Linked DNA regions of Homo sapiens: regions 2, 3, 4, 5, 6 and 7 are each linked to region 1. The links are contacts of gene promoters, found by promoter capture Hi-C in blood cells and fetal thymus (Javierre and others, 2016). All regions are on one chromosome and are shown on one strand. The core of a region is centred on a gene start or on the middle of the fragment in contact, and the rest is flanking DNA. Distances in the headings are between cores, read along the strand shown.

Evidence for each region. Contacts are between HindIII fragments. The CHiCAGO score rates a contact against its expected background, and 5 or more counts as called.
Region 2: a fragment that was not itself captured here is called in contact with the fragment with the promoter of ZNF783 in region 1 in 1 of 17 cell types (neutrophils); the score reaches 8.9 in neutrophils.
Region 3: a contact is called between a fragment that was not itself captured here and the fragment with the promoter of ZNF783 in region 1, in 1 of 17 cell types (neutrophils). The highest score is 7.4, in neutrophils.
Region 4: a contact is called between a fragment that was not itself captured here and the fragment with the promoter of ZNF783 in region 1, in 3 of 17 cell types (neutrophils, total B cells and naive CD8 T cells). The highest score is 8.5, in neutrophils.
Region 5: a fragment that was not itself captured here is called in contact with the fragment with the promoter of ZNF783 in region 1 in 3 of 17 cell types (neutrophils, naive CD8 T cells and non-activated CD4 T cells); the score reaches 11.1 in neutrophils.
Region 6: a fragment that was not itself captured here is called in contact with the fragment with the promoter of ZNF783 in region 1 in 1 of 17 cell types (neutrophils); the score reaches 9.4 in neutrophils.
Region 7: a contact is called between a fragment that was not itself captured here and the fragment with the promoter of ZNF783 in region 1, in 1 of 17 cell types (neutrophils). The highest score is 6.5, in neutrophils.

Annotation. Positions count from the first base shown.
Region 1 is chr7:149,259,723-149,263,891 of GRCh38, forward strand. ZNF783 (zinc finger protein 783) reads left to right here and starts at 2,474. Exons shown (of 6, transcript NM_001195220.2): 1 at 2,474-2,635. The coding sequence starts at 2,612. It overlaps LOC124901769 (a long non-coding RNA gene), which reads right to left and starts at 2,619. Exons shown (of 2, transcript XR_007060582.1): 1 at 1,925-2,619. RefSeq lists a silencer at 2,072-2,941. The HindIII fragment of the contact is 3,928 bases long and covers 1,657-4,169 here.
Region 2 is chr7:149,752,626-149,756,794 of GRCh38, forward strand. No RefSeq gene overlaps it. Among named protein-coding and RNA genes, the nearest start is that of ZNF467, 19 kb to the right of the region's middle. The HindIII fragment of the contact is 2,790 bases long and covers 392-3,181 here.
Region 3 is chr7:149,731,920-149,736,088 of GRCh38, forward strand. It overlaps KRABD3 (KRAB domain containing 3), which reads left to right. Exons shown (of 17, transcript NM_001290187.2): 17 at 1,287-2,656. The coding sequence ends at 2,128. Among named protein-coding and RNA genes, the nearest start is that of KRABD3, 19 kb to the left of the region's middle. RefSeq lists an enhancer at 3,142-4,058. The HindIII fragment of the contact is 819 bases long and covers 1,585-2,403 here.
Region 4 is chr7:149,715,496-149,719,664 of GRCh38, forward strand. It overlaps KRABD3 (KRAB domain containing 3), which reads left to right. Exons shown (of 17, transcript NM_001290187.2): 2 at 4,051-4,169. Among named protein-coding and RNA genes, the nearest start is that of KRABD3, 2.6 kb to the left of the region's middle. RefSeq lists an enhancer at 1-378. The HindIII fragment of the contact is 2,588 bases long and covers 861-3,448 here.
Region 5 is chr7:149,632,694-149,636,862 of GRCh38, forward strand. TRC-GCA9-3 (tRNA-Cys (anticodon GCA) 9-3) reads left to right here and starts at 2,994; the gene lies at 2,994-3,065. The HindIII fragment of the contact is 2,394 bases long and covers 1,227-3,620 here.
Region 6 is chr7:149,612,277-149,616,445 of GRCh38, forward strand. It overlaps TRC-GCA19-1 (tRNA-Cys (anticodon GCA) 19-1), which reads right to left and starts at 860; the gene lies at 789-860. It also overlaps the pseudogene ZNF767P. The HindIII fragment of the contact is 602 bases long and covers 1,985-2,586 here.
Region 7 is chr7:149,593,254-149,597,422 of GRCh38, forward strand. It overlaps TRC-GCA23-1 (tRNA-Cys (anticodon GCA) 23-1), which reads right to left and starts at 2,032; the gene lies at 1,961-2,032. It also overlaps the pseudogene ZNF767P. The HindIII fragment of the contact is 3,527 bases long and covers 152-3,678 here.

The DNA.
Region 1 (4,169 bases), core at 1,224-3,723:
CAGGTCCTGGAAATCTGATCCCCCAAAAAACAAACTCACAAGAGACAGATTAACAATTAAAGATGAATGTAGGCTGAGCGTGGTGGCTGATGCCTGTAATCCCGGCACTTTTGGAGGCCGAGGTGGGTGGATCTCCTGAGGTCAGGAGTTTGAGACCAGCCTGGCCAACATGGTGAAACCCCGTCTCTACTAAAAATACTAAAAATTAGCCTGGCATGGTGGCAGGAACCTGTAATCCCAGCTACTCGGGAGGCTGAGGCAGGAGAATCTCTTGAACCTGGGAGGTGGAGGTTGCAGTGAGCCGAGATCGTGCCATTGCACTTCATCTTGGGCAACAAGAGCGAAACTCCGTCTTAAAAAAAAAAAGCCACCATGTAATTTTAATTTATATCAGAGCTGGCTTGACACCCCGGCTGGTCTGCTCAGAAACCACATTATGGTGCAAAGTGTTCGTTTATTAAATATATTTATAAAATCTGAGCATGGGAATGGGAGGTAGCTGTGGGACCCTGATAAACAGTGCCAAGGTTTTCGAACTGTGATCACCAGACCAATAGAATCAGCATTTCTTGGGAACTAGTTAGAATTGCAAATTCGCATCACTTTCATCCCCTCCTGTTTCAGACCTAGAAATGTTGAGGTTTGTGCCTAGCATCCTGTATTTTTAACAAGAACCCTCAGTGAACATGATGCACACTGAAGTTTGAGTACCACTGACTTAGAGAAACTTTTTTTCTAAAAAACGAAGACTAGCTGTCAAACATTATAGCACTCTTTCCTCAACAGAGCTCATTAAATCCTAGCATTTTTGTCTCCAGCCCATTTTCCTGACCCTTTCTTTCTTTCTTTTTCTTTTTTTTTTTTTTTGAGATGGGGTTTTGCTCTTGTTGCCCAGGCTGGAGTGCAATGGCATGATCTCGGCTTACTGCAACCTCTGCTTCCCGGGTTCAAGCGATTATCCTGCCTCAGCCTCCAGAGTACCTCACCACCACACCCAGCTAATTTTTTGTATTAGTAGAGATGGGGTTTCATCATGTTGGCCAGGCTGGTCTCGAACTCCTGACCTCAGGTGATCCATCCGCCTCAGCCTCCCAAACTGCTGGGATTACAGGCATGAGCCACGGCTCCTGGCCCATTTTCCTGACCCTTTCTGTTTGCATTGGACCTTAACTGTTATTCTATAACGTCACCATTTACTGGTATTTTATAATCCTGAATAGATTGGACTGATCCCTGATAAGATCCTAGGGATGCTCTTAATGTCTTTAGTGCATACTTGCAGTTTGTGTTTTAGATTGGGATAGTTCAACAAGAATTTCCAAAATGAATAATGCCAAATATTTATTTGATTTGTTACCTTAAAGTAACACGTCCTAACCTTTCCGCAAATTTTGGGGTTCACCTTACTTAGGATATCAGTTTGTGTTTTTTCTGATAGTTGACCACGCTTTTGCTTGGCTCAAATATTTGTGAAAATAACTTCTCACCCTCACCCCCCCCCCCCAAAAAAGAAAAAACAAAACCAAAACCAAAAAACCCCAAACAAACCCAAACACAGAAAGAAACAAAACTGCAGATTTCTAGCGGGAAGAGTTTGCCAGCTTGTTGGACAAAGACTGTGAGATGAATGGGAAATGCAGAAAAGACAGAAAACAAAGCTTCAACTGCATACAGCACATTTAGTTCAATATGCCTCAGCACAGGCCGAGGAAAATGGGTCCTGCGGTTTATTCAAGATGCCTCAGGGCCTAAATGAGGGATGGACTGATTCACACTTGCTGTGATCTCAGCCTGGACCAAAGCTACAGAAGGGTCCTCGTGGGTGGCTGAGGACTTTCACCAGGCGGGCCCCGGGAGGAGGAAGGGACCCCAGAGTCCTCAGGAGGGGAGGGCAGGCTTAGGAAAAAAAAAAAAAAAATCCTACCATCTTCACGTTTGTTCTGTCAAATTTAAAAGAGACTTTAAAAACGTTCATGTAAGTTTCCCTGGCTTCTCCCTGGGTACACACGTATCCTTTTTACTTTCCCCAACTCAGTTCTGTGGTGCGTGGGAGGCGCTGCAACAGAGTCTCGGTCCGGACTGGAGCCCCGGCGAGGGCCGACCCCGTTCCCCACGCAGCTTTCCCTCGCGAGGTTTCGCACTTTCCAGCGCGGTTCCTTCCCGCAGCCCTCCCGGCTCCCGCGTGGGACGCAGAGAGAGGTTGGGCGCCGCGCTGGCCCGGGAGTGGCTTACGCCTGACGTAGCCCCGCTGGAGGCCGTGGCACGCCCGCCCTGGCGTCAACTCCCGCGCCCCGGGTGAGGGTGGGTGGCCGCGCCTGGGTCCCGGACGCCGCGGGCGCTGAAGGCCTCGGGAGGGCGCGGGGCGGCGGCCGCGGGCGTGCGGTCCTACGGGCTGCAGGGGGCGCTGTGCGCGTCCTCAAGCTCGGCCGCCGAGCGCAGCTCTTTTTTAAAGGGCCAGCGGGGCACGTGGCTCGGGACGCAGTTCGCTGCCGCCCGGCAGTAGCTCTCAGGTTAGGCGGGTCCCGCTCCGCTTCCGCCGTCGCTGCCGCGCCGCCCCGGGCCCGACAGGCCGGGTCCAGGGACTGCAACCCAGCGAGGGACGCGGGCAGCCATGGCCGAAGCGGCGCCTGCCCGGGTAAGCGCCCTCGGCCCCGCGGACGCCCGGAAGGCCCAGGCCGCCGCCGCGTGAGCCCGCGCGAGGGACTCTGGCCGCGCGAGGCCGCGGGGTGAGAGGGCCTTGCGCGCAGCCTCCGCGCTCGTTGCCCCCGGCCCATCGCCCAGCCCGCGTCGAAGGCATTGACCGGGCGGCCCAAATGCCAGGCCCGGCGGGCGGGGCCCCGACGTCAGCGGCTGACGATCCGGCCCATCTGCGGCCTCAGCCAGGCCGGGCCCCAGAGTCACGCTCGGCGACGAGGAGGCCGCGCCTTAGGAGTATTGTCCCATTTGAGGCCTCGCGGCCCCCCCTACAGCAGGCTGGGCGGGCAGGGGCCGCCAGCCCCACGGGACAGTAGCGGAGGCTGAGATGGGAAGGGACAGGCCCAGGGTCACGCATCTATTAGAGGCGGGAGCCTCACGCCGGGGCAGGGATTTTGGAATTAGACACTTTAAAACGCCTCATATTCTACTTTTGCCAAAGAGAAAGATTGTGTCGTTTACAAGAGAGATAGTAGATTTTTTTAAAAAAGATTACTGTAGCAGATTTTATTTAATTTTTTTTTTTGAGAGGGAGTCTCGCTCTGTTGCGCATGCTGGATGGAGTGCAGTGGCACGATCTCGGCTCACTGCAAGCTCCGCCTCCCGGCTTCAAGGGATTCTCCTGCCTCAGCCTCCCAAGTAGCTGGGACTACAGGCGCCTGCTACCACGCCTGGCTAATTTTTCTATTTTTGGTAGAGACTGGGTTTCACTATGTTGGCCAGGCTGGTCTCGAACCCCTGACCTCGTGATCTGCCCGCCCCGGCCTCCCAAAGTGCTGGGATTACAGACGAGAGCTACCGCGCCCGGCCATTTTAAAATTTTTTAATTAAAAAAGTATATATATATACGTGTGTGTGTGTGTGTGTGTGTGTGTGTGTGTGTGTGTGTATATATATATATATATATATTTTTTTTTTAGACACAGTCTCACTCTCACCCAGGGTGGAGTGTAGTGGCGGGATCTCATCTCACTGCAACCTCTGCCTCTGCCTCCCGGGTTCAAGGTATTCTCCTGCCTCAGCCTCCCAATCCCAAGTAGCTGGGATTACAGGCGCAGGTGCCTGTCTCATTTATATCTATCTATCTATCTGTCCAGATACATATCTATATGAATAAGTTTATTCATAAGAATACACTATAAGTATTCCTATACAGAATTTTTCTCCTGGAGAAGGAAGAATCACATCAGTTTTTTTGGCATCTTCATCTATATAAGTTAGGCCAGTTTAGCAGATTTTAGAATCTTGGTTTGATATAGTGCAGTATGTCCAATTGGGAGATTATAATCCTTTGGCCATTTTTGACATACTGGAAAACGCTTGTAAAGGCTCAATAGATGATACCTACTATTATTAATACACCTCAGTGAAGGTTTTGAAACCTTGATTTTTCTGGATACTTTTATTAAAGTATAACTTCCTCTCCCTCCTCTTAGTGAGTGTGCTGAGCTTCTTTTTGGGTTCCCTGAGTGCAA
Region 2 (4,169 bases), core at 537-3,036, 490 kb after region 1:
CCAACAACTGCAGGCGACATCTGGTAAGGTGGGAAGCAGAGGAACCATGACAGCTTAAAGGAGGAGATTGTTGTGTGCTGGGATCATTGGGGAAGGACACCCCCAGGAGGTGGCCCCCATCTGTGCTCGAAAAATAGGTAGGATTTAAAAGGGAAGTCAGGGCAGTAGGCACTTTGTGATGGGGAAGCCCAGGGAGGCCGGGGCAGGAGGCAGGAAGGACCACACGGCCCGGAGACAGGAACAAGACCGCTTGGTGTAAGGGAGGGTGTGTACCCAGGAGGTTTGGAAAATAAGTTTCAAAAGTTTGTTGGGGCCAACTGTAGAGAGCCTTGAGTTAGAACAGACATGTATTGCACACTGGCTAGGTGGGCACTCTGCTCTGTGCCAGGGAAGCTTGCCACCCCCAGAGGGACACACAGAATAATGTGGCACAATGTGTCAACCGCTAAGGCCTCTGGATATTCAGATGAGCAGAAGTTTCTAAGCTGGGGCGTAATAAGTTATAAGGAAGATCAGCCTGACAGTTGGAGGATAGATGGGGAAGCAGGAGTTGGGGAGAAGTCAGAGGGGGACCTGATAGGAGAAGGTTGCCCACTGGCCTGGGCTTGGGGGGACAGTACTGGGAGGGTCAGGGGCAGCAGGGGCAGCAGGGCAGGCATCTGCAAAGGATGAGCGTGCTATGACGCGAGCTCCATCATTCTGGAGAAAGAGGATCCTGAGGCCTTAGGAGTTCTCCTGGAAGCCCCACAGTGAAATCTCAAGAGAGAAAATCCCAGCGAGGACAGGGACACTGGGCCCACGGGAATCCTGTCTTGCTGGGCCGGAGGGGAGCCCTGGGTCTGGCTCCTGTAGAGCCTGAAATAGAATCCGATTTGCGATGCCCCTAATGATGTTATGTAATGACATTGCATAAGCCCGTTACGTAAATCAAAGTCCTGCTATTGACCAAGAATGTCCCCTGCCCCAAGGCTGACCTAATCCCACGCCTGAAGGCTCAGTCCTTTGTGGCAGTTGGATAAATCTGTTTCCTAAAGCCTCTGTGAAACCCTCCCGACCTTAAAGTCTCTGTCTTTAGGGTTCCTGGGGCCTCCTTCTCCGTTGCTGCTTCTCCACTGTGGGAGGCCTCAGTGTGACACTCACTCATCCTTCCCCAGGTGAGGGTTCCCAGGGAAGGACAGGATTCCAGTCCTTCCACCAGCGTGGAATTGTGGCCGTGCGCCCTCTTCTGGGGGTCTTGCATACTCCCTCTGACTGTGAAATACAAGACTTGTCTCTGGTTAAAAGACATTTCAAGGATCAGTAAGTGAGTGAAGAAGTTTTCTTCCCTGTGGGGCATGGGTGGCCTCCCCAGGACCCTGGAGTTAACAACTACGAGCAGGTTCTTGAGTCCCAGGAGCAGAAAGAATCTTTCACTACTGGAAACCAGCATGTCCCGTGAACGCACTCACCAACCTGTCTGCCTTCAGTCGGCCCATCTGTCTCCCTGAACATACTAGCAGAAGCCCTCCCACCCTCAACCCACCTCGCCAACCCCCACCCCGGCTCCCCTTCAAGCCCTCTCCCCAGCATAGGCAACATCTTCCTCGGGAGGCTGTCTCCTTCCTTCATCTATGTCTCTCTACAAGTAAATCCTGGTGTGCACACCACCACCCCCGACACATAAACACAGTTTACAGAAACACCAAACAAAACAGTCATGTTTGATGGAAAAAGGCTGAGTTCCCAGTTGCTCTTAGTGTCTCCTAAAAGTCAACTGTTTACTGTCCTATCAAAGCTATTTTACTGTTATAGGACTAGGAAAAATTTAAATTTAAAAATCACACGAAGAATAAAGTAACACAAAGCAAAACTGTTTATGTTTTATCTTTTTTTTTTTTTTTTTCAGACAAGTTCTTGCTCTGTCACCCGGGCTGGAGTGCAGTGATACAATCTTGGTTTACTGTAACCTCAAACTCCTGGGCTCAAGGCATCCTCCTACCTCAGCCTCTTGAGTCACTAGGACTACAGGCCTGCTACCATGCCTGGGTAATTAAATTTTTTTTTTTTTTTAGAAATGGAGTCTCCCTATGTTGCCCAGGCTGGTCTTGAACTCTTGGCCTCAAGTGATTCTCCCACCTCGGCCTCCCAAAGTGCTGGGATTACAGGTGTCAGCCACAGTGCCCAGCCTCTTTTGGCTTTTTTGAATGATATGACACATCTCCAAAACATAGCACAGGGTGGATCCAAGAGCTCCTGGGGTAAGAGCTGCCTGGACCCACAGGTCCACTCTCATGGGCTCTGATTAGAGCTGCACTGCCCCATTCCCTCCCAATACCAGGAGCCCTCATTTCAGCCTCAGCTCCCCCAACTTTGACACAGTATTTTACTCAAGGTCTCTGTTATGAATTGAATTGCGCCCCCCAAGAAGTCCAAAAAGTTGTGTTGAAGTCCTAGCCCTGGCCCCAACCTATGAATATAGCCTCTTGAAAATAGGATCTTTGCGGATAAAATCAGGATGAGGTCATTAGGGTGGGCCGTTCTCCAATATGACTGTTGTCCTTATAGGAAGAGGAGGGACACAGACATGCCCAGAGTGGAGGAGACCCAGGAAGAAGGTGATGGGAGGATGGAGGTAGAGATTGAAGTGCTGTGTCTATAAGTCAAGAAATGGCCAGGAGAAAGGCCTGGAACAGAGTCTTCCCTTGAGCCTTCAGAGGGAGTGTAACACCTGATTTCACACTCATAGCCTCCAGACCGTGAAGGAATAGATTTCTGCTGTTTTGAAGCTATGCAGTGTGTAGCACTTTGTAAAGGAGGCCTCAGGAAGCGAACACAGCAGCTTCGGTGAACGCAGTGCCACATGGCACAGCTCCCCCCTTGCCTGTGTGCAGGGGGCAGCAATGTCAGCAGGACAATTTTCAGGCAATTCACAGAGACTGTGGCTTGGAGTTGGGCCCAGGCTGGCCAGTGTCTTGGGAGTCTGTGAGGCCTCGACCCTCTTCCCAGGTTGCTATCTGCCTGCCCCATAAACACATCCTGAGACTTTGCTACCTTCCTTTCCCCCTTCCTTCCTGGTGTTCTCTCAGAGCTGTACCTGTCTGCACTGCCTGGTCTCCTTGGTACATCACCTGCTTGGACATCAGCCACCCTTTCTCAGTGCCTCGATTCAGGATGCCATAATATATGTTTTCTATGAAAATGAAGCTTCATTCTGCCTGCCGATTCCTACCTATTTTAAATCACAGCTGACATCCACGCCTCAACAAAGATTCCCATAGCTGTAGCTCCATGATTCATGATCGCGTCTAGAAAGGGAACATTTTGCAACAGATAGCCAGGCCCAACTTCCATGGCTTCATGCTTCTTCCCAGGTCTCTGCCACCCAGCACTGTCCTCTCCCAGGAGACAGATGCATGCTAATGCCACGTGTGTGTGTAACAGGTTTCCCGGCTGGCTGGAAGCCTGGTCCCCAGTTGCTTACAGTCTTGGCAAGTTAATTCACCTCCTCAGAGATGCCCTCCTGATCTCCAGGTGTGAGTCCCTGCTCCTTGCTCCTTGTTCCATGATCCTTTGCACATACTTCTCTTACCAACCCACTAGGTCCAACCGCGAGTCTGTGAGTGCCCTGAAGACCTTGAATGTGTGTCCTGAAGACCCCTCTCTGCAAGGGGACAGTGGAGCTTGGTGTTTAAAAGTACAGGTCCTAGGAAAATGCAAACCAAAATCACTCTGAGATGTCGCCTCAAAGCCATGAGGATGGCCAGTATCAAAAACCAGAAAATAACAATTGTTGGCAAGGATGTGGCGTCATTGGAAGCCTCATGCATGGCTGGTGAGAATGTGAAATGGTGCAGATGCTGTGGAAGACAGTATGTCAGCTCCTCAAGAAATTAAAAATAGAATGACCATATGATCCAGCAATTCCATATCTGGGTATATACCCAAAAGAGCTGAAAACAGGCACTCAAACAGACATATGTACACTCCTGTTCACAGCAGCATGATTCACAATACCATAAGGTGGAGGCAACCAAGTGTTCATTGGTGGATGATTGGATAAACAATGTAGTGTAGACATGCAATGGAATATTCAGCCTTAAGAAGGAAGGAAATTCTAAGACCTGCTACAGCATGGATGAACCTTGAGAACATCATGCTAAGTGAAATAAGCCAGTCACAAAAGACAAACA
Region 3 (4,169 bases), core at 744-3,243, 470 kb after region 1:
CAGTGTTTTATCACAGAAGCAGTTGGGATTTTCATAAAAGCAGACACACCTTTTAGAGGTGGAAATTGAGAAGTGAAGGATCAAAGTTTGGGGCTTGAGGGGACTTTAGAGAATAGGTGAGGAAACTGAGGCTAGGATGACCTGGCCATGGTCACTGTGAGAGGGTTGGCTCCATGTCACACACGTGCCCCTACGGACTCATGGTGGAGACATGCAGGGGGCCTGGCACCTAGTGCCCTGGGTCACTTGGGGACAGCCCCACACCAGGAACTTTGAGTGTGGCCTGCGGCAGGTTCTCTTACTGGCTCAGGGTGTTGGCTTCTGTCCAGGCGCCACCACTTTGCTGTGAGCTCTGAGCTGCCTGGGGCCACCGAGCCTTGCCTGTCCTCTGTAGAAGTCCTAGCTGGGGTCTCCAGGCCGAGATCCTTATTGATGAACTTGACCAAACAGCGGTTGGGTCCTTTAGCTACTCCAGTCTTCACTTTTTCCTCGGTTTAAAGCCCTGGAGGTGCCGAAAAGAGCAGGGCAGAGCCACAGCTGGGGGCCCAGAGAAACAGGGAAGAAACCATCTCTGCGCCCGGCCTGGGGCTGAACAGGTTAGGAATGGCAGGTGCCTGGCCAAGCCTTTCCTGTGGTTTGCCCAGGGTTGGGACCAATTCCAAGGGAATTTAGGGCGAAGGATTAGGTGATCTTTTTTTAAAAAAAACAAAAAGCTTATGACTCCTATGAATCTGTAACTTCTCAATAGGGAGAGTAAAAGCAGAAGGGGGTGGGAACCCTTGTGGTTTGCCTGTAACGAAGAGCACTGAGTTCTGGAGTGGCCCCAGGGTCACCCCACAAAAAATGCGCAGAAGGCCCTTGGCTTGCCTGGCCCTCCTGGCCCATCTCCTGGTGCTCCCACGGCCTTGGCCTCATGCTGTCTCGGGGGCTCTGGACCCTTCTCACTGACTCCTAGGGCAGGGTGCCATTTGGTCTCATCAACAACACAAAGACCCACCGATTCCTAGAAGGTGGGAAGACCGCAGTTTAGGAAAGCCTGGTTACCACGGAAACCCAACCTGTGGTTGATCCTGCCCATCAGTTTGGGGAACAGCCAGGAGACATAGCCAGTTTTCATGCCATAAGCATTGGCATCTGCGTTCTCAGGCCTCACCCACCTTCCTTCCTTTCTGGAAGCTGGGCCTTGGAGGAGGCAGAGTACTGAGCGCCCTTGGTTCATGGGACCTCTGGGGAGAGAAAGGTCCTTACAAACCAGGAACTCTGACCGGTCCTTGCTCTGGTTTTAGCCAAGACCCATGAGAGGCTGCTCCCCCAGGGCCCGCCTGAGCTGCCCAGTGAGTCTCCCCCTCCGGAGCTGCCCCCTCCGGAAGCTGCGCCTCCTGTGTTGCCAGCCTCCTCCCTGCAGCCGCCATGCCACTGTGGGAAGCCCCTGCAGCAGGAGCTGCACAGCCTCGGTGCTGCCCTTGCGGAGAAGCTGGATCGGCTCGCCACAGCGCTGGCAGGCCTGGCTCAGGAAGTGGCCACCATGAGGACCCAGGTGAATCGGCTGGGGAGGCGCCCCCAAGGCCCTGGGCCAATGGGCCAAGCTTCCTGGATGTGGACCCTCCCACGGGGACCTCGCTGGGCTCATGGCCCTGGTCACAGACATCTGCCCTACTGGAGGCAGAAGGGACCCACGAGGCCTAAACCAAAGATCCTGCGTGGCCAGGGAGAGAGCTGCAGGGCTGGTGACCTGCAAGGACTCTCCAGAGGGACCGCTCGCCGGGCACGTCCGCTGCCTCCAGACGCTCCCCCGGCAGAACCTCCTGGGCTCCACTGCAGCTCTTCCCAGCAGCTGCTGTCCTCTACACCCAGCTGCCATGCTGCGCCGCCTGCACACCCCCTCCTCGCACATACCGGGGGCCACCAGAGCCCCCTTCCCCCTTTAGTGCCTGCTGCCTTACCCCTGCAGGGAGCCTCTCCTCCTGCAGCCAGTGCAGATGCAGACGTGCCGACCTCAGGAGTGGCACCAGACGGGATCCCAGAGCGGCCCAAGGAGCCGAGCAGCCTGCTGGGAGGAGTGCAGAGGGCCCTCCAGGAAGAACTGTGGGGTGGGGAGCACAGGGACCCGAGATGGGGGGCGCATTGATGGCATTCCTCTTCTCCACATCTGCTCGTTCTTGCCGAGGGTGCAGTGGTGGCGTGGAAGCCCTGTCACCCCACCCCAGGCCACCCTCTCCCAGAGGACGCCATCTCCCTTACTGTTGCTGGGAGCCTCGCCCTTTGTCCCAACTGGGTAGAGCCCCCAGGTGCTGTTTGCTCAGGAGGCTGCTGTGGGGGTGCCTTCCTCAGCCTCTGGCCCTCTTGGCTCAGATTCAATCAAATGTTGCTTCCCTCTCCTGTCTTTCCCACTGGAGCCGCCCAAGCTTGTAGGTGGGTGGTGTGCATAGGCCACGTGTGCCCCACATATGCAGGGGGTGCCCCACACAGCTAGAGCGGCCAGGAGAGCGCCTCCTAACCACCAGCCGTTCCTGATCTCAGGAGCCTTGAAGGGCTGGGCTCTTGCCTTCCTGGAGTAAATATTGGCACAGATTTCATTTGAGAGAACTCAGCCCCCTGGTCTAAGCTGGACTTACCTCTGTGGATTCTGAAATTAAAGAAGTGAGTTGCTAAGGAAGGCCCTGACTCCTATAGAAGGGAGGTCCATGTGGGCCCACGCTGGGGCGGGGCTGGTTGTGCCACCAGCACGCTGCCTCGTCTCCCAGACATCCTCGAGAACATTCAGGAGTGTGCCAGGAAGGGTGGGGCAATTCCCACAGGACTCCTGGGGCACACTCTGAGTCCCCTGGGGCTGCCTCACAGAGGAACCCTGCCTGGGCAGCTTCAACAGCAGCACATATTGTCTCTGTCCTGGAGGCCAGAAGTCTACAATCCAGGTGTCAGGTTCAGTTCCTGCTTTGGGCTGGGAGGGAGGATCGGTCCCGGACCTCTCCCCTTGACCTGTAGATGGCTGTCTTCCTGTTCAGATGGTGTTTTCTACACAGCTGTCTCCAGATTTCCCCTTCATATCAGGGCAGCAGTTGTATGGGGTTATGACCCACCCTAATGACTTCATTTTAACCTGATTACCTCTCTAAACACCCCCTCTCCAAGTGAGGTCACATTTGGAGGTACTGGAGGTTAGGCCTTCACCATACACATTTGGGGAGGGGCACAGTTCAGCCTGTAACACACCAAACGGGCTGGGCCAGTCTTCCTGGTTTTGTCTTGGGAAAAGACATGACCAGGTATCACTAGCCCACTTCTGTCCTGGTTACCGGAATGTGCCTGCTCCCAGCCCGCTCAGCTGGCGCTTGGCAATGCGTTGGAACCAGCCTGCCTGTCATTCCCTTGCATCATCTTCCCAAGAGGCAGAATGCAACCTGTGTGCCCCCAAATCCCTTATTTGACCTGAGGTGGTTTCAGGACCTGTATGTGCACCTGTTGACTGGCAGGGCCAGCCTGGTGTGGACTGGCAGGGCCAGCCTGGTGTGGACTGGCACACTTGGCCCTGTCCTCAGGTCCCTGAGGAGCCTGGGACACCAGCACTGTGGCCTGGGGCAATGCTGGCTGCCCACCATGACTACAGGAGCAGTGCCTTGTGGCTGCAGCGCCCAGTGTGTCCCTCAAGTCAGGGTCACTGGGGACACACTCGGGGCCTAAGTGCCCTGCAGCTGAGCTTGGGAGCTGAAGCCCTTGCTCTTTGCCACCCTGTAGAAGCAGCAGGGCAAGGACACCTGTCAGAGGGGAATGCCCGCAACAGACTGAACATCACAAAGGGATGGGAAGATGCTTTCAGGACTAGAGTGAGCCCCGAGGTGACTGTCTGGAAACAGATCCTAAGACCATACAAGTAGGATGTTTGTTGAAATACGGAGGCTGTTCGCTCACAGCCGTGCTTGCACAGAATCAGGAAGGGAAAGTTTCTAGGTTGCTCCTGCCTGAGGAGCTCTCCTTCTAATAAGCAGGGAGCAGTGCCGGGCACGTTTCAGAGCCACGGCAAGGGGTGGGACACAGTTTCAGAGGGGGGTTGAGAAGCGAAACTGCCCCTGCCCTGACTCTGGCTGTGAGGAGAGGACTCTTGCCCACCCCTGCTGCAGCTGGTGCAGTCCCATCGTGCCTGCCTGTCCTCCCATTCTCCTTTCCCTTCT
Region 4 (4,169 bases), core at 905-3,404, 460 kb after region 1:
GGGAGAGCCCCAGGCCGTGACAGCCTGGGCACCGTTTGGGCTAGGTTGTGTGTGGGCTGTGACGATGCTGGGAAACTCTGGTGCTGATATCAGTGAGGTATCAGGTATCTGGTGCTGATACCAGCAACTGCTCCACGTTCTTCTGGATGGGCACCTGGAGCCAGTTCTGCAACCGTGGTGGCTCCTGAGCTTTGGCCAGTCCGAGGCAGCCATGGATGGGGGGCAGCGTGTGACTAGGCAGAGCAAACACTGTGCCAGGCCCTTGGCGTCATTAGTGCCCCCAAGCATTTGGGGAGAAGGGAGAGGCTAGGCAAATTGGATGTTGTTGGGCAGGGACAGTCAAGTGTCCTTTTCAGGTCTGGCTGCACAGTTAAGTAGCCTAGGGACACCCTGGTTCAGACATGCCCATGGCCCCATCCTAAGGCCTCCTCATACCACAGTTTCCTGTTCTGTAAAGTGAGGAGTTTGGGCCATTGACCTTTCAGATCTGATGAGGGGAATATCCTCACACTACGTAGCTTCATGGAGAAGGTGGCCAGGAGTGACCTTGGGGAGTGGTAGGTCACTGTAAGGTGGAGAGGAGCAGGGAGGGTTCCCAGAAGCCCAGGGCAATGTGAGCACAGCCTCCAGGTTGAGAGGTCCTGTGGCAGGGTCTGATCAGGGAGCCCGAGCCTGAGGCCCACTGGGAGAGCAGGTCTAGGTTGGGAAGGACTGTGAGAGAGGGGCAGGTCCAGCAGGCACTGAAGCTGCAGTTTTTGTGCTGGGCTAGTGACACGGTGGAAGGGTGATGTTAGGAGGACCAGTGTGCAGCTATGAGCTAGGAGGCTGCCCAGTTACAAGAGTCCTGGGTCAGCCCAGAAAGCTTTTCTCCATTGGTTGGGGGAAGGAGGTGAAGTGGGGCCCGAGGAGGAAGGCCGGTGGTGTGTGGGCAGAGCCAGCCAGTGGTGGCCTTCCTCCTCCCGAAGATGAGTTTTGTAGCCCAGGTGTTTGCACACTCACACTTGCTCACTCCCTCACACACAAAACCCTCACTCTTTGCTTTTTCTGGGGAGAGGGAGGCCACTGGCAGAAGCGCCTACCCTGGCCACAGTCAGTTCCCATTCTCATTTTCTAAGAATTTTATCACAAAACAGTTTGTCTTGAGGCTGAGATGGTGAGAGGCCTGGAAAGCATCTCTTACAGATTCCTGGAAGAGCTGGGATATATTTAGTCTGGAGCGAGAGAGACACCGGTGGTCAGGAGCAGTATGTGGAAGAGCTCAGCTGGCAGGCTCAGACCTGCAAGCGGGCATTAGGCAGACAGGTCTGGCTGCAGTATTACTAATCATAGCACTTAATATTCATAGTCCCCGCATTTGTTCTAGGCACTATTCCTGTATTTGTTTTGTCTTCACAATACCTCTATGAGGTAGGTTGTTATGATCCCAGTATTACAGATGAGTTCACTGAGGCCCAAATAGGTTAGGTTTGGCTGAGGTCTCATAACTAGTATGAAACAAGGCAGGGATTGGAATTCTGGCAGCCTGGCTCCTGAGGCTAGGCCCCAGTCACCGTGCTCTGCCCCGGTCTCTGGGTCCGGAACCTCTTAATGGCCACATCAGGTCAGCAGTGGTACCAGTGCAACCAACATAGCTGGTATCATGTTCTTACCTAGAGCTCAGACCTGCCTTGCCAGCTCTGTGTTGAGCCATCAGAATGTCATGTGGGAACCCTCTGCCTGCCATGAACCAAAATTCCAGACTCCCAGAAGGAAAGCAGGGGTGTGGCACACACCACGTCATTTGCTCAGCCTAGGCACCTTGAGCCACTCCCATCATTTAGGGAATGGTGGGAAGCCTCCTGACACCTAAATACCTGGAAGCCAGCCTGAGCCCTCCTGGCAAGCAGGCCTTCCTAAGGACAGCGGTCTAGGGCTGCTCTGCACGCTCTTCTGCATAGACCCTGATGTTGGCTACATTTTCTCTGTTCCAAGATGCTAGGAAGAAATGTAAATAACTCTTTGAGAGAAGTTTTGGAGGGTGTCTGAGACTGTTCCTGAGAGGGAGTGACCATACCTGGGCCAGAGCCACAGAGGTTTGCTCAGGGAGAGTCTGCACATCGAGGCAGGAGGCAAAGGCTGCAGCATCTCACTGCCCATCAGCCTCTGGGCCTCCGGGCCTCAGGCAGGCAGTCACGGGAGGGGCTGCCCCTTGCCAGGGGTGTAGATGCAGCCTGGCCAGAGGGGAGCACTGGTAAGTGTGACTGCATGGGACAAGTTATCAGCTGTTCAGGGAGAACAGGCAGAGAGCCCGGCAGTAAGTGGACAACAAGGCTGCCGGTTAGTGGCAGGGACAGTTTTTTGTTTTTCTTGAAACAGGGGCTGGAGTACAATGTTGTGACCTTGGCACACTGCAAATTCTGCCTTCCAGGTTCTCCTGCCTCAGCCTCCCAAGTAGCTGTGATTACAGACACCCACCACCATGCCTGGCTAATTTTTGTATTTTATTAGAGATGGGGTTTCACCATGTTGGCCAGGCTGGTCTTGAACTCCTGACCTCAGGTGATCCACCCACCTGGGCCTCCCAAAGTGCTGGGATTACAGGCGTGAACCATCACACCCAGCCTGGGACAGTTTTTAGAATCACTGACTTGGGTGGGTGCAGGGGCTCACGCCTGTAATCCTAGCACTTTGGGAGACCAATGTGGGAGAACCACTTGAGCCCAGGAGTTCAAGACTGGCCTGGGCAACATAGTAAGGTCCTGTCTTTTTTAATTAATTAATTAAAATAACTGCCCTGAGCAGATGAAACAAGCGGTGAATTGTCTTTGCTTTATTAGGGGCGTGTTCATTTTCTTTAATAATTTGTTCTCACAAATAAACAGTTTAACATTCATTTCTCAACAGGAAGGACCCTTCCCATAATTTACCTTCTGTTTGCTTAATTTGCACAGTTAATTTTTGCCATAATTTTAAATTCAAGCCTATTGATGCTGGTCATTTTCTAGTGTCTGATGGCCACTTTAAAGTCCACTGAAGGACTTTTTTTTTTTTTTTTTTTTTTTGAGATGGAGTCTCGCCATATTGCCCAGACTGGAGTGCAATGGCGTGATCTCGGCTCACTGCAACCTCTGCCTTCCGAGGTCAAGCAATTCTCCTGCCTCAGCCTCCTGAGTAGCTGAGATTACAGGCGCCCACCACCACACCTAATTTTTGCATTTTTAGTAGAGACAAGGTTTCACCATATTGGCCAGCCTGGTCTCGAACTCCTGATCTCAGGTGATCTGTCTGCCTTGGCCCCCCGAAGTGCTGGGATTACAGGCGTGAGCCACCACACCCAGCCGAAGGATTATTTTGTAAAGAAACATAGACAAAAATGCTCGTGTTATTTTAAAAAGCCACAGGGTAGGAGGAGATGAGTACAGAGAATAGGAGATAGGAGTACAGGGTGTAAAGGAGCCTGGTGACCCAAAGCTTCCAAGGGCAACCCCAGGTTTCTTCTGAGCACTTCTCTAAACCCAGCACACAAACTAGGTGGACAGCAAGAATGTCTTCTCTCACAGCCCTGCAGACCCGAAGCCCTACGTCACAGTGTGGGCAGGCCACACTCCCTCTGAAGGCTCTGGGCCAGGATCCTTCTTGCCTCTTGTGGCTTCTGGTGGCCCTGGGCATTCCTTGGCTTGTGGCTGCATGACTGTAGTCTCTGCCTGTCTTCACACAGCTTTCTTCTTTTGTGTCTGTCTCTGTGTCTCTTCTGATAAGGAATGAGTCATACTGGACTAAGGGTCCCCCCTACTTAGGAGTATGACCTCATCTTAAGTAATTCCATCTGCAGGGACTCTGTTTCTAAATAAGGTCCTACTTACAGGCGTGAGGGTTAGGACTTCAGCGTGTCTCTGCAGAGACACAGCTCACCCCCAGCACTGTCTCTTGAGGGGATTCCTGCATGTCAGACCCTGGCTATTATCCTGGAGTGTGCGCCTGGAGGCCTAGGTGGGGTTACCAAGTGCAGGGACAGCTAGGCTGTCCCCTCTGGGATGGAACAACCAACCCCCCCGGAGACTGTGCCTGCAGGTGTCCATCACCTTCAAGGACTTGGCCGTGCGGTTCTCGGAGGAGGAGTGGCGGCTCCTGGAGGAGGGGCAGAGGGAGTTCTACCGAGACGTGATGCGGGAGAACTACGAGACGCTGGT
Region 5 (4,169 bases), core at 1,174-3,673, 370 kb after region 1:
CCTGCTCTCAAATCATCAGCAAATCCTGTTCACACTGCTTCAAAATATATCCAAAATCTGACCACTTCTCATTGCCTCCACCATCAGACAAAGCTGAAATCATCTCTCATCCAGGTTATGGTGACAACTTCCTGAACTTGTGTCCCGGCTTCCATACATGTCCTCTAGTGCCCTCAGGCCAGCCAGAGGACGAAATCAGCTTATGTTATTCCTCTGCAAGAAATCCTCCAATCACTCCCATCTAATCCAGAGTGGAAGCCCATGTCCGTACACAACCTATCCCAATGGTGACTGAAACAGACATGGGCTCTTGAAACTAGAGGAATAGATCAAGATGTACAAATGTTCACAGAAGTTAAAAATGGAAAATATGAGAAATACTAGATGGTAAGATGCAGGGATATTATAAGACTATTACTGGGATATCAAAGCGATTGCAGGAGGTAAGGACACTTTCCTTGAGGAAGTGATGTTTCATTCATGGCGTACTGGTAAGGTGAAATATTTGTGGTAGTTATTATGCATAAGTAGTGTGTATACCATTGGGGCTGATGTGAAAAATTCTCTCTCTTGGGTAGTGTGGCCATCCTGCTGGCTTTTTCCAGGGCACCTACTGTCCATTTTAGCCATAGAAGCTGGTGCTGGAGTTCACCTCCTTTGCCCAGCTAAGGCTTCTGCACAGTGAGATGAGGCAGGTAGTGACTCCCGCCCCAGGAAACTCTCACTGATCCCTGTGGTCTCCTTGGGCTGCCTCTGTCTGTGCCTTGTGTGTGTTTCACTCTCCCAGCCCCTTTTAGGACCCCCTGAGAGTCCACATTGGGACACCTGGAGCCAGTCTTCACCACATCATGCCCACCAGAGGAGACAAGTTCTCTTTTATGAAGATGGAATTTGCCATCACAAAAGAGGCTTGCCCATCTGCTCTCTTCTTCCTTGCTGAGGGCAATATTGCATAGTTTCCGGAAGGTGGGGCAGGGAAATTTGAGAGGAAAATTTGCCCAACTGACTTCTTTTCATCTATACTTTTACTTCCTTGGGCTCTTAGGTCTCTTACTACCTCTGGTTTTGTGAAGAGCCACCCCCTGGCAAGGTCAGTCATGCCTGGAGTTCCCATGCCATGTAAAATTGTCTGTATGCTGGTACAAGGACTCCAACTATTGCTAACCTTCTAGTCTCCTTACAGTTAGCACATTGGTCTGAGTAATTTATGTAATTTCCCTATTGGAAGCTTAGGGCAGTTTCCGAGGGGAATTCTAATGTAGGAGGAAGAGGGGACTCTGGGGTAGGGTGGCCACAGTGTGCAGTTGATTCCTTGTTGATGTTCGCTCCAGCATGAGCTGCACACCAGCTGGCTACTTCCACAGGCACACTCAATGCAGGAAGCCATCTCCTAAGGACAGTCACTGACTCTTTTTAGGGCCACCACAGTGAGATCCAGACTGAGAAGACAGGAGCTCGCCTGGTACTTGGGGTCGTAGGACCATTTCAGGCAGAGAGGGCTTCAGATTCCTCCTTCTTCATGCAGGGGCCATTGGATTCGTACAAGAGCTGCATTAGTTGCTCTCTTTCTTGCTCTTCAGGAGGGCTTCCTAGCAACTGCCCTGCTGCCCCCACCCCAACTCAGCCATCTCTCTCATACAGGGAAGACGACTTGTCTATTTCTCTTGCTGTATATGTGGTTTTATCACTGAGCAGGGGACTTGTCCCTTCCTTGATCGTCTTCCTCGAGGTATGACTAGAAAGACCTTTCTCTGCCTTTAATAATGCTGACACCATCATTTTGACCTGATTGTAAGCCCCAGCTGACTCGGGAGGGCAGCATTGGCATTTTTATTTTTACTGATTCCTGCACAGTTTATACACCTCCTTGGGCATGGTACTACCTGACTATACTAGGTCCTCACCATCCGAGAGGCCTCTGGGGAGGCAGTAGGTCAGGGTGGAGAAGGCACGTGTGGAAGGGGGTGCTGTGGGACTCAACTCAAGTGTGGCTGAGGGACAGGGGGTCAGGGCCTGGGTGCTGGGCACAGGACACAGGCAGCAGGGATGCCCCGGCCCATTGTGGGTGCCTTTTGCCCTCAGACTCACCACCCCCATGGTGATGTTCCAGCCGGGTGGACAGTGGACAACTGCTGTGTGAAAAAAGAGTGACAGCATCAGAGGGGAGGGGCTGAACACTGGGAGGGATGAGAGCTGCCTGGAAGGAACGGGGCAGAGGAACTGGATGAGAGAAAGCCTGGGAGGATCTGAAGAAGGAGGAGGAATTAGGACAATGCCAGCTGCAGGAGGCAGAGAAGACTTCCTGGGGAATATTTTATCAATTTCTCTCTTTTATTTTTAACCACCCAGAAGGCTCAGTACCTGGAAGGCTGGAAACATGGACATTGAGTTATCACATGTAAATCGGAAAAGAGAAGATTCCCCCACCCGCTCCCTGGTTTCTTCACCTGCTCCCAGGGGGTTACCATTAACTATTGGTCTATTATCATTCTTTTTTTATGGCCACACAGTATTCTATGGTATATATGTGCCATGGTTTTGTAATACTGAGTATTATTATTTAAGTAACTTTCTTTTACAAAAGCAATTTGCTTATCACTTGGAAAATTATCATGAACAGTATTGTATGTCAAATACAAGTCCCAGACACAGGCACTGGGCCTCCTTGCAGTGCATGGGAAGGTGGTGTCACCCAGTTAGAGTTCTGTCCCCAGTCTAGCACACCTCACATGATGCTCAACAACTGCTACTGTCAAAGAGGATTATCTGGATGACTTGAAGGGTCTTTCCAGTCATAAAGGTCAACAAGGCCACCAGGGTGTCCTCAGCCAGGTCCACACAGAAGCGATGGGAAAAGAAGTGTTAGTGACAGGAGGGAGGCCAGAATTCAGAGAGACAGAACTGGCCTGGACATCCCAACCTGCAGAGCTGAGTCGTGTTCTTGGTGTGTCGACACATGAAAAGGGTGTTAATTACACCCTCTCCCTGGGCCTGGGGGTATAGCTCAGGGGTAGAGCATTTGACTGCAGATCAAGAGGTCCCTGGTTCAAATCCAGGTGCCCCCTACCCTGTTTCACTTTTAATCACCAAAGTGGGTCCTGGATCACATGCTCCTCTCGGGCTCTCTCTATTAACTCAACCCTGGGCAAGATATGACCAGGCCTGCTGCCCCCTCTGCTCCTACTCCCCATCTGCTGAGCCCTCAACAGGCCCAACGAGATGCCCGCCTGCACCCCCTCCCCCGCCCACCCCGGTCCCCGGAAATCACCCAACTGACTTCCAGTTGAAAGTCTAGCACTAAGAGGCACTAAATTTGCACCATGGACCTCTTGACCTGCAGGCAAATGCTCTTCCTCTGAGCTAGAAACCCACTTCAGATGAGTTCCCAATGGACACTGCTTAAGGATGTCGCCTGCCCAAGGGAGGGATCCTCCTGAAACCCACAATAGTTTCTGTTTACTCCAGGTCAGGTCCCATGTCCTAGCAGACCTATCTCATACCAACCAACCCTCTCTGGCCATTGGCTCTATCCCTCTCCCACTGACCCCTCATTTGAGTCCCAGAGCCTCCTTTGTACTGTGTGGTCCATTCTCCTCCTTCTGTCTCAAGCTGAGTGCGTAAGCTTTGACATCACTTCTTGCTGGAATGATCATCCACTACATCTCTCCTTCCTTTGCCTCTTCCTCATGGACATTTATTCTAAAATCAACCCCATCCACCCCACCCTCACCCTCACCCTTTAGACAATGGCTGGATTTTGCTTCTTTTCTTTTTTTTTTTTCTTTTTTTTTTTGATGGAGCTCATTCTGTAGCCCAGGATGGAGTGCAATGGCACGATCTCTGTTCACTGCAACCTCCACCTCCTGGGCTCAAGCTATTCTCCTGCCTTAGCCTCCCAGGTAGCTGAGATTACAGGCATGCGCCACCACGCCCGGCTAATTTTTGTATTTTTAGTAGAGACGGGGTTTTGCCATGTTGGCCGGGCTGGTCTCAAACTCCTGACCTCAGGTGATCCGCCCGCCTCGGCCTCCCAAAGTGCTGGGATTACAGACGCGAGCCACCCCCCTGGCCCTTTTTTTCTATTTTCTACCTTTTCCTCCTCTTTTATCCCAAGGCCAAATTCAAGGCCTTGGACTGCAGGGCTGACCCTAGGGGAGGTGGAAGCTGCC
Region 6 (4,169 bases), core at 1,036-3,535, 350 kb after region 1:
CTGCCATGCCCTGCAGACATCAGACTTGCAAGCTCCCACAATGGCATGATCCAATTCCTTAAAATCTCTATGTGCACACACACACACACACACATACAGCCCCTATTGGTTCTGTTTTTTCTGAGGAACCCTCATTCACACACCAACATTCAGAGGGAGGACACATCTGACCTCGATTTTTCCTTAACCAGAGACAGGATCCTGTCTTCCACCAAGACTTACACAATTGTGAATTCCCCAAATGAGGCTTGAGATGTGCAAGAAAAAAAGAGTTCTCCCCAGACCTGTGAGCACTGACTTAGCCTTCAAGAAACTGGTCTTCTCTAGAGCTTCCGGTGTCAGGCGAGGTTTTCTAGTGAAGACCTGACCTGCTTCCTCTCTCTCCTGCTTTGCAGAATGAATCCATGTGTGTTGAAGAACAGCTAAGAGTAGAACATCCTATCATGATCAGTGAGTGAAAAGATGTTGGGAGGGAAGCTGAGGCAGGGCTTGCATGTCTGGCTAGACTTGCTGGCTCCTTGCTTCTAGCACTCCCACTATGCTAATGTTTCTCATTCACTTGATACACTGTTTCCTTTCAATCCCCACATCCTCACCACCTGTTTGAGCACCAATAAATAGCGTGTGCTCCCAATGCTTGGGGCCTTTGCAGCCTCCAGACTCGCCATGGCCCTCTGGTCCCACTTTCTCTTTCAAACTGTCTTTTTCTCATTCCTTTGACTCTGCTGGACTTCGTCACCCCCATGACCTGGTGTTGGGTCTGATCACCCCAACAAAAGAAAACAGGAAGGGGGCACCTGGATTTGAATCAGGGACCTCTTGATTTGCAGTCAAATGCTCTACCCCTGAGCTATACCCCCATGTAATTGCCTGTCTCCAATAAGAACTATAAACCTGTATGGCCACACCCTGACTGTCACCATTATGAGATATGTACTTGCTTCGTCACGATATACCCCCTTCCTACTCCACACCTGCCTGCCAGCTCTACTTACAACCAGCATCCTTCCTTCTCCAGTGTGTGACTGAAGGCAGGGACATTAAAATCACTGCGGTTTGCAGCCAGAACATCCTTCAGACTCGCCTAGAACAGAGGGACTCAAAAGAACTGGTTGCTCAACAGACCCTTTAAAGGTGAGGCTGGGCTGGGCAGAGCTGGGTAAAAGCAAAAGTTCTTGAGCCCCACTTGAGGACTCCTAAGCCACACTATCTGGGAAAGGACCTAGGGACATGTGTGCTTCTAACCAACTCCCTGCACCATTCTGACTTACAGTTTGGAAACACTGGTTTAATCTGTTCCCTTCCATGGTATAGATCTAGAAAAAATGACAGTAATTAAAATCATGCCCAAACAAAACACACTTGATTAATGACCAAGTCATGACTAGAATCCACATTCATGATAAAGGGCCTCTTTGCACTGAACACTCTGAGGCAGGAGTTGAACTGCCTTTTCCTTTCCTCTTCTTTCCTCTTCTCCTCCATTCGCTGAATCCCACAATGTGTCAGATAAAAGTAGTGACCAGAAGACAAGATCCAATCCATGGAAAAGTGGAGAAGTGGAGAATCAGAGAAATCTGTGGTCACAGACATGACACAGGACGGAGTGACTGCAAACACGTGGGCAGAGTGAAAGGAAGGGCCAACAAGTGACACCATCTTGAACCAGGGACTAGATATGCAGCCAGATGCTCTGCCCCCAAAAGGTGCCCTCTCAACTGTTTAGACTTTCCTGATTGACACTGTTTCACCTATGTTCCCACGCCCAAGGATCTAATAGACATTGTAATTTCTCATCATTTTCAGTGAACCACTGGCAACTGACCTCCTTCAGACAGACCTCTATCTGGCTTTGAACTTACCCTGTCCTTCCCCATGGACCTATCAGAGGACTTCTAGAAATCTTTCCTGCCTAGAATCCTGCAGCCTCCTCCTCAGTCCCTGTGTGGGGCAACAATTTGGAGAACTCCTGTTTAGAGCTGGAAGCTTCCTCTCTCCTTCTCTCCTACTTTAGTTTTATCTTCTCTTACCTACATCCCATACTCTCTCTCCACTTCACTTTCACCCTCTGCACAGTGGGGTTACTTTGGGCCCTGGCCTACATTTTTTGACTGTCTTCTCTTCTTCCCTCTCCTCACTTACTAGTCCTTCCCTTTAAAAGGGAGACACCACCTTAACAGAGGGGACCCAGCCCCATGCTAGCCCCAAACCATTAGCTCAGCACAACTGGCAGAGCCAGGACCAGGCACGAAGGCTATTTGAGCTCTGAAGCTCAGGCCTCCAGTATCCTGAATTAAGACAAGGATCTCTCCCCATCAGGTTGGCAGAAATGTAATTATAGAAACTGGGCAGACATAAAGAAACAGGTTCTTCATAGCTAGCTGCTGCTAGGCGCACCTGGTGGCACTGGGGTACTTCTGGGGACAGCAATATGGCAATGGCAGAGACAAAATCAAGCAAGCCTATGATATGGTGAGGCCACCGCTGGGTCTGTTTTCTGGAGTAGCATCCCCACAGGGGCACAAAAAGAGACAGGCCCAAGAATGATCACTACGGTATCGCTTGTGAGTGTGAAAAATCAAAAAAAGCTTAAGTGCCAATCAGTGGAGGAATGGAAAATAAGTTACAATATAGTTGCTTCTGGAATATTAAGCATCTGTTAAAAGGAATAAACTTGATCTACATGTATCAACATGGATAGGTCTGAAATACAGAATAATGAGTGATAAATATAATGACATCTATGTAATGTTTCAAAACACAAAAATCCATATATTGTTCACAACTACCAATGCACACAGTAGACATTTTAAAATGTGGATAGAGGGTGAGCACGGTGGCTCACGCCTGTAATCCAGCACTTTGGGGAGGCCGAGGCAGGTGGATCACGAGGTTACGAGATCAAGACCATCCTGGCTAACATGGTGAAACCCTGTCTCTAATAAAAATACAAAAAATTAGCCAGGCTTGGTGGCATGCGCCTGTAGTCTCAGGTACTCCAGAGGCTGAGGCAGGAGGATTGCTTGGACCTGGGAGGCGGAGGTTGCCGTGAGCCAAGATCGTGCCACTGCACTCTAGCCTGGGCGACAAAGAGAGACTCCGGCTCAAAAAAAAAAAAATGTGGATAGAAAGGATAAACAGACAATTCAGGACAAGCGGCTGCCCTACAGAGGTCTGGGAGACCTAAATGATATCAAAAATCCATTATTTCGCACACACACATCACACACATACACACACACACATTTTGAATTACAAAGCATGGCATACATTCAGCAAATAGTTACTGAATTCCTACTCTATGCTCAGCAATATCTCAGGTGCCTAGAATGAATATATGAAGAAAACAGTTAAAAAGTCTTTGTACTTTGAAACTGACATTCTAATGAGGTAGACCTGACATACGATGAAATCTATAAATAGGAAATATATATATTATGTGACGCTGTCTGACACGGAAGACCGAAAGCAGGAAAGTAGGCCCGGAGTCCTGGGTGGGGAGGGGCTGCAGTGCCGATGACAGGAAAGGCCTGCAGGTGGGACCTGCCTGAGGAGCACTCCCAGCAGAGGGCACTGCGAAGGTCCTGGCACAGGGTGGAGGGGACACCACCAGGGATGGTGCAGCTGGGCAGAGTGAGAGAAAAGTGGAGGAGGTGAGCCAATAGTGCGGGTCAGATGGAAAGCCAGGACTTGCGTCTAAAAGGGATTACTCTGCTGGGCTGAGATGAGACTCTGGGGGATCAGGGCAGGGGCTGGCAACAACCTCAGCAAGAGACGATAAGCCTGGGTGTCAGAGTGGAGGGGATGAGGCGTGGACAGACTCTGGGCAAACCTGGCAGGGAGGGCCAGTAGGGTTTCTGGTGGAGTGGATGCGGATGTGGAGGAGGAGGTCAGAGAGGACTCGTGGGGTTTTGCCTGTAAATGGAAGGATGGAGCGGCCATTTACTGGGTTGGGGAGAATGTGGGAGGAGCAGGCTATTCAGAGAAGACAGGAGCTCAGCGCTGGGAATGTTTGGGGGGAGTTTATGAGACACTGAGGTGGAGATACAGGCCAAGCAGCTAGATGTGCGGAATTTGGGGCAAAAACCCAGGTTTGAGGCACACATTCCTAGATGGTATGTGTGGCCCCAAGACCCTGGGAGACGATGGGAATGAGGAAATGCAAGTAG
Region 7 (4,169 bases), core at 665-3,164, 330 kb after region 1:
GCTTGAACTCGGGAGGTGAAGGTTACAGTGAGCCGATAACGCGCCACTGTACTCCAGCCTGGATGACAGAGCGAGACTCTGTCTCAAATAAACAAATTAATTAATTCATCAATTAACGTTAGTCATCGGAGGCAAGGTGGACTCTTTGCAAAGCTTTGAATTAACTTTGTCTTCAATCCACAGCTGCCCCTTGAACAACATGGGTTTGAACTACGCAGACCCACTTATAAGTGAATTTCCTTCTCCTCTGCGACCTGAGACAGCAAGAACAACCCCTCATCCTCCTCCTCAGCCTACTCAATCTGAAGCTAATGATGAGGATGATGACCTTTACTATGACTCACTTCCACTTAAAGAGTAATAAACATATTTTCTTTTCCTTATGATTTTCTTAATAAAAAGTTTCTCTAGCTTATTGTAAATATATAATATATAATACATAGAGCATACAATATACATGTTATTGATTATTCATATTGTCAATAAGGCTTCTAGTCAATAGGAGACTATCACTAGTTAACTTTTTGGAGAGTCAAAAGTTAGATGTAGACCTTCCGCTGCATGGGATTGGGGGCTTGCACCCCTGGCCCCTGTGTTGTTCAAGGGTCAACCATGCTCCTGCCTTCCCTCTCAGTGTCCTCCTCTTCCTCCCCTCATCCTGTGCCCTGCCTTTGTCTCTTCCTAAAAGATTAGGTTTGCCACTTGTTTCCCTGATAGAAAGTGTTCGGTTCTGGAGCATTAGCTGAGTAAGTAGCAGTCAGGGCCACTTGAGTGGCCAGAAGTGCCAGGAAGACAAAGAGAGAAAGAGGCTTTTTCCTTCCTTGCAGCTTCGAGGGCTACAAGCAGAGCCATGTCTTCCACTGTGCCTCACACAACTGGGGATCCTCAAAATGTGGACAGAGGGTTCACAGGGTGGGGAAGAATAGGAAGAAAAACAAAAAAGAAAACACAAGAGAAATGCTCACCAAAGCAAAGCAAGACAAGACTGAATCAGGCGTGCAGAGCAGATCTGGGCAGGTCACGTGGGGCAGCAGGAAAGTAGAGAGGAGCATGGGACAAACCAACCTCCTTACCCTCTCGTCCTCTTTGCAGGAAGAGTCAGGTGCAGGGGCCTCAGGAGGTGAAACGAAACTATTTTTGAATACTCTGGTCAGTATGGGAAGAAATTAGTGTAGGTAGGGAACACATGAATTTGAGTCAGGGACCTGTGGATCATCAATCAAATGCTTTACTCAAAAACAACTACTGAAGCCTGAGTACACTTTAATTCTGAACTTCAATGCAGGGAGTCGAGTAATCACTCATGGCCTGCCACCACCCCTAGCTGACTGTGCCATTGCAATTGGTCACCCTCCTACCATGCCCACAGCTTCATTCTGACATCCCCCACCTTCCCACACTCTCCCACCTCTACATACCTGGCCACTTGCCTATGCCTGCAGCTCAGCACCCTACATGCCCTCAGTGATGGACTGAAGGCAGGCACTAGCTTGAACATCACTGATGCTTCCCACTGGGATGTTGTTTAGAATGACAAGTTGTTGTAAGTTCCAAAACAATTTTCCAGCCACTTGGAATTATTGGATGTTAGAACAGGTATTAACAGGGGATTATGCCCCAGACAACCCCCAAAAGTAGAAGTTCTCTGATTCCTCCTCAGTCCTACTAAATTGGAATTTCTAGGAAGTAATCTGTATCTTTGACATGTTCTGTCAGTAATGCTGATGCAAAGTCAGACTACATAACCTCTAATTCAGGCTGTCCTGCCATAATATAAACTTCAAAGAAGAGCAGCTAATTAGAACTTTTGAAGCACATGCAGATTATTACTGACTTGATCATGACTTGTGCCAGAAAAATGAAGTCATGAGAAAACTGACACGAACTATAGGAAGAACAGTGGTGAGGATGACTAGCAAGCTCAACATCAGGAAAAGAGAACCCACAGGTAAGTGGCAGCAGGGAGTAACCGGATTTGAACCGGGGACCTCTTGATCTGCAGTCAAATGCTCTACCTGTGAGCTATACCCCCTTGCCTGGTGGACATTCCTCCTTAGCATATTTCACCTGTGTTGCCACACCCAAGGATTCTACAGTGCACTATAAATTGTATTCATTCCCAGCCAGCTTATGGAAACTGGCAACTCTACCACAACTGACTAGAGACCGCCCTTCTGGTCATGAGTTCACCCCTCCATTTCCCAGAGACCCTTCACTGGTCTAATGGTACTTTCCTACTCTGTAGCCACAACCTGAACTCCTTCAACTATCTCCTCCCATTCCCTTACTCAGTACCTGATGGGAATAGGGGATGAGGGTTGGGGGAGAGGCAGGTGTAAGAATCAAGGCTGTATTAGTCAGCTATTTCCACAACAATGTGTCACAACAAATCATCCCAAAATTAGGCTGTATGAAACCATAAGCATGTCTCGTGCTGATAGGTCAGCAGCATGGATGCCAATCAGCTGATGTAGGCTGGGTCTGCTTCAAGCTGTGGGTCCATCTGTGCTTGGTTTCTGTCTGAGCCGGGCTCAAGTTTGCTCCATGTGTGTTCCTTCCACAATCCCAGCTGGAGGAGTAGCAGCTAGCAAGGGGACACTCTTCTGGTGGTGACAGCAGAAATGCAAAGGGGGAGGCCCAACTATGCAAGCAGCTTTCAAGCCTCTGTTTGCATCACATGTGCTAACATCTCATTGATCAAATCAAGTCAGAGAAGCAAGCCCTAACTCAAGAGCAGGGAAGCATGTTCCACCTCTAGTGGGAAGATCTGCAAAGTCTCATGGTGAAGGTCACAGATGCAAAAATAAGTGAAGATCCAGGGCCACTTCCAAGTGGTTCACTTGTGCCTTGTAACCCCTGAGCCCCCAAGGCCGGTTGTTTCCTGCTTGCCTTCAAATGGAGGGATTAATCTGATCAGGCCCAACTGCCCTGCTTGCTTTTTGTTGTTATTATTTCCCTATTTCCACGAAGCTGAAGGCCACCGTACCTGAAAGCCTCAATGCTCAATGCAGAAACTTAACTTTCATGGGAGGCTTTATAGAACTTACGTAGGTCACATGGTGATGGTCACTTCAGTTGTTTTTCAGGCACTTGGGCCAGCTCCTGTCCAGCTAAAACTGGTTTAGACAACTGACTCTTCAACTGGTCTGAGCAAGTGCCTGAGAGGTGGCCTTTTGATATAAGAGGGCCAAAAATCTCACCCTCAAATCATGCTAATGCCACAATTTTCTGTGGATATGTCCTGTGAAATGTCATGGCATGTACCTGGAGTCCCAGCTATAGAGCAGGCTAAGGTGGGATGGCTTGAGGCTGTAGTGAGCTATGATCATGCCACTGCATTTCAGCCTGCGTGACAGAGCAACACCTTGTCTCAAAAGAAAAAAAAGAGAAGGAAGAAGGGAAGGAGGGAGGGAGTGAAAGAAGGGAAAGAAAGAGAAATAGAGAAATGCCTTTGGTCTTTGATGTTGGTAACCTTCAGATGGGGTTTTTGTGTGGTCGTCCTTTTCGTTTATTTGATGCTATTGCTTTCTGTTTGTTAGTTTTCCTTCTAACAGTCAGGCCCCTCTTCTGCAGGTCTGCTAAGAGTTTGCTGGTGGTCCACTCCAGACACTGTTTTCCTGGGTATCACCAGCAGAGGCTGCAGAACAGCAAAGACTGCTGACTGCTCCTTCCTCTGGAAGCTTCGTCTCAGAGGGGCACACGCCAGATGCCAGCCAGCGCTCTCCTACATGAGGTGTCTGTTGATCCCTGCTGGGAGGTGTCTCCCCATCAGGAGGCACGGGGGTCAGGAACCCACTTGAGGAGGCAGTCTGTCCCTTAGCAGAGCTTGAGCACTGTGCTGGGAGATCCACTGCTCTCTTCAGAGCCGGCAGGCAGAAAAGTTTAAGTCTGATGAAGCTGTGCCCACAGCCACCCCTTTCCCCCAGGTGCTCTGTCCCAGGGATATGGGAGTTTTATCTACAAGGCCCTGAATGAGGCTACTGCCTTTCTTTCAGAGATACCCTGCCCAGAGAGGAGGAATCTAGAAAGGCAGTCTGGCTACGGAGGCTTTGTGGCGCTGTGGTGGGCTCCAACCAGTCCAAACTTCTGATAAATTATAAAAATATATGTAACGTTAAAAACAGCCATGCACTGGGAATGGAGGTGTAGTTCAGGGTAGAGCTTTCCAC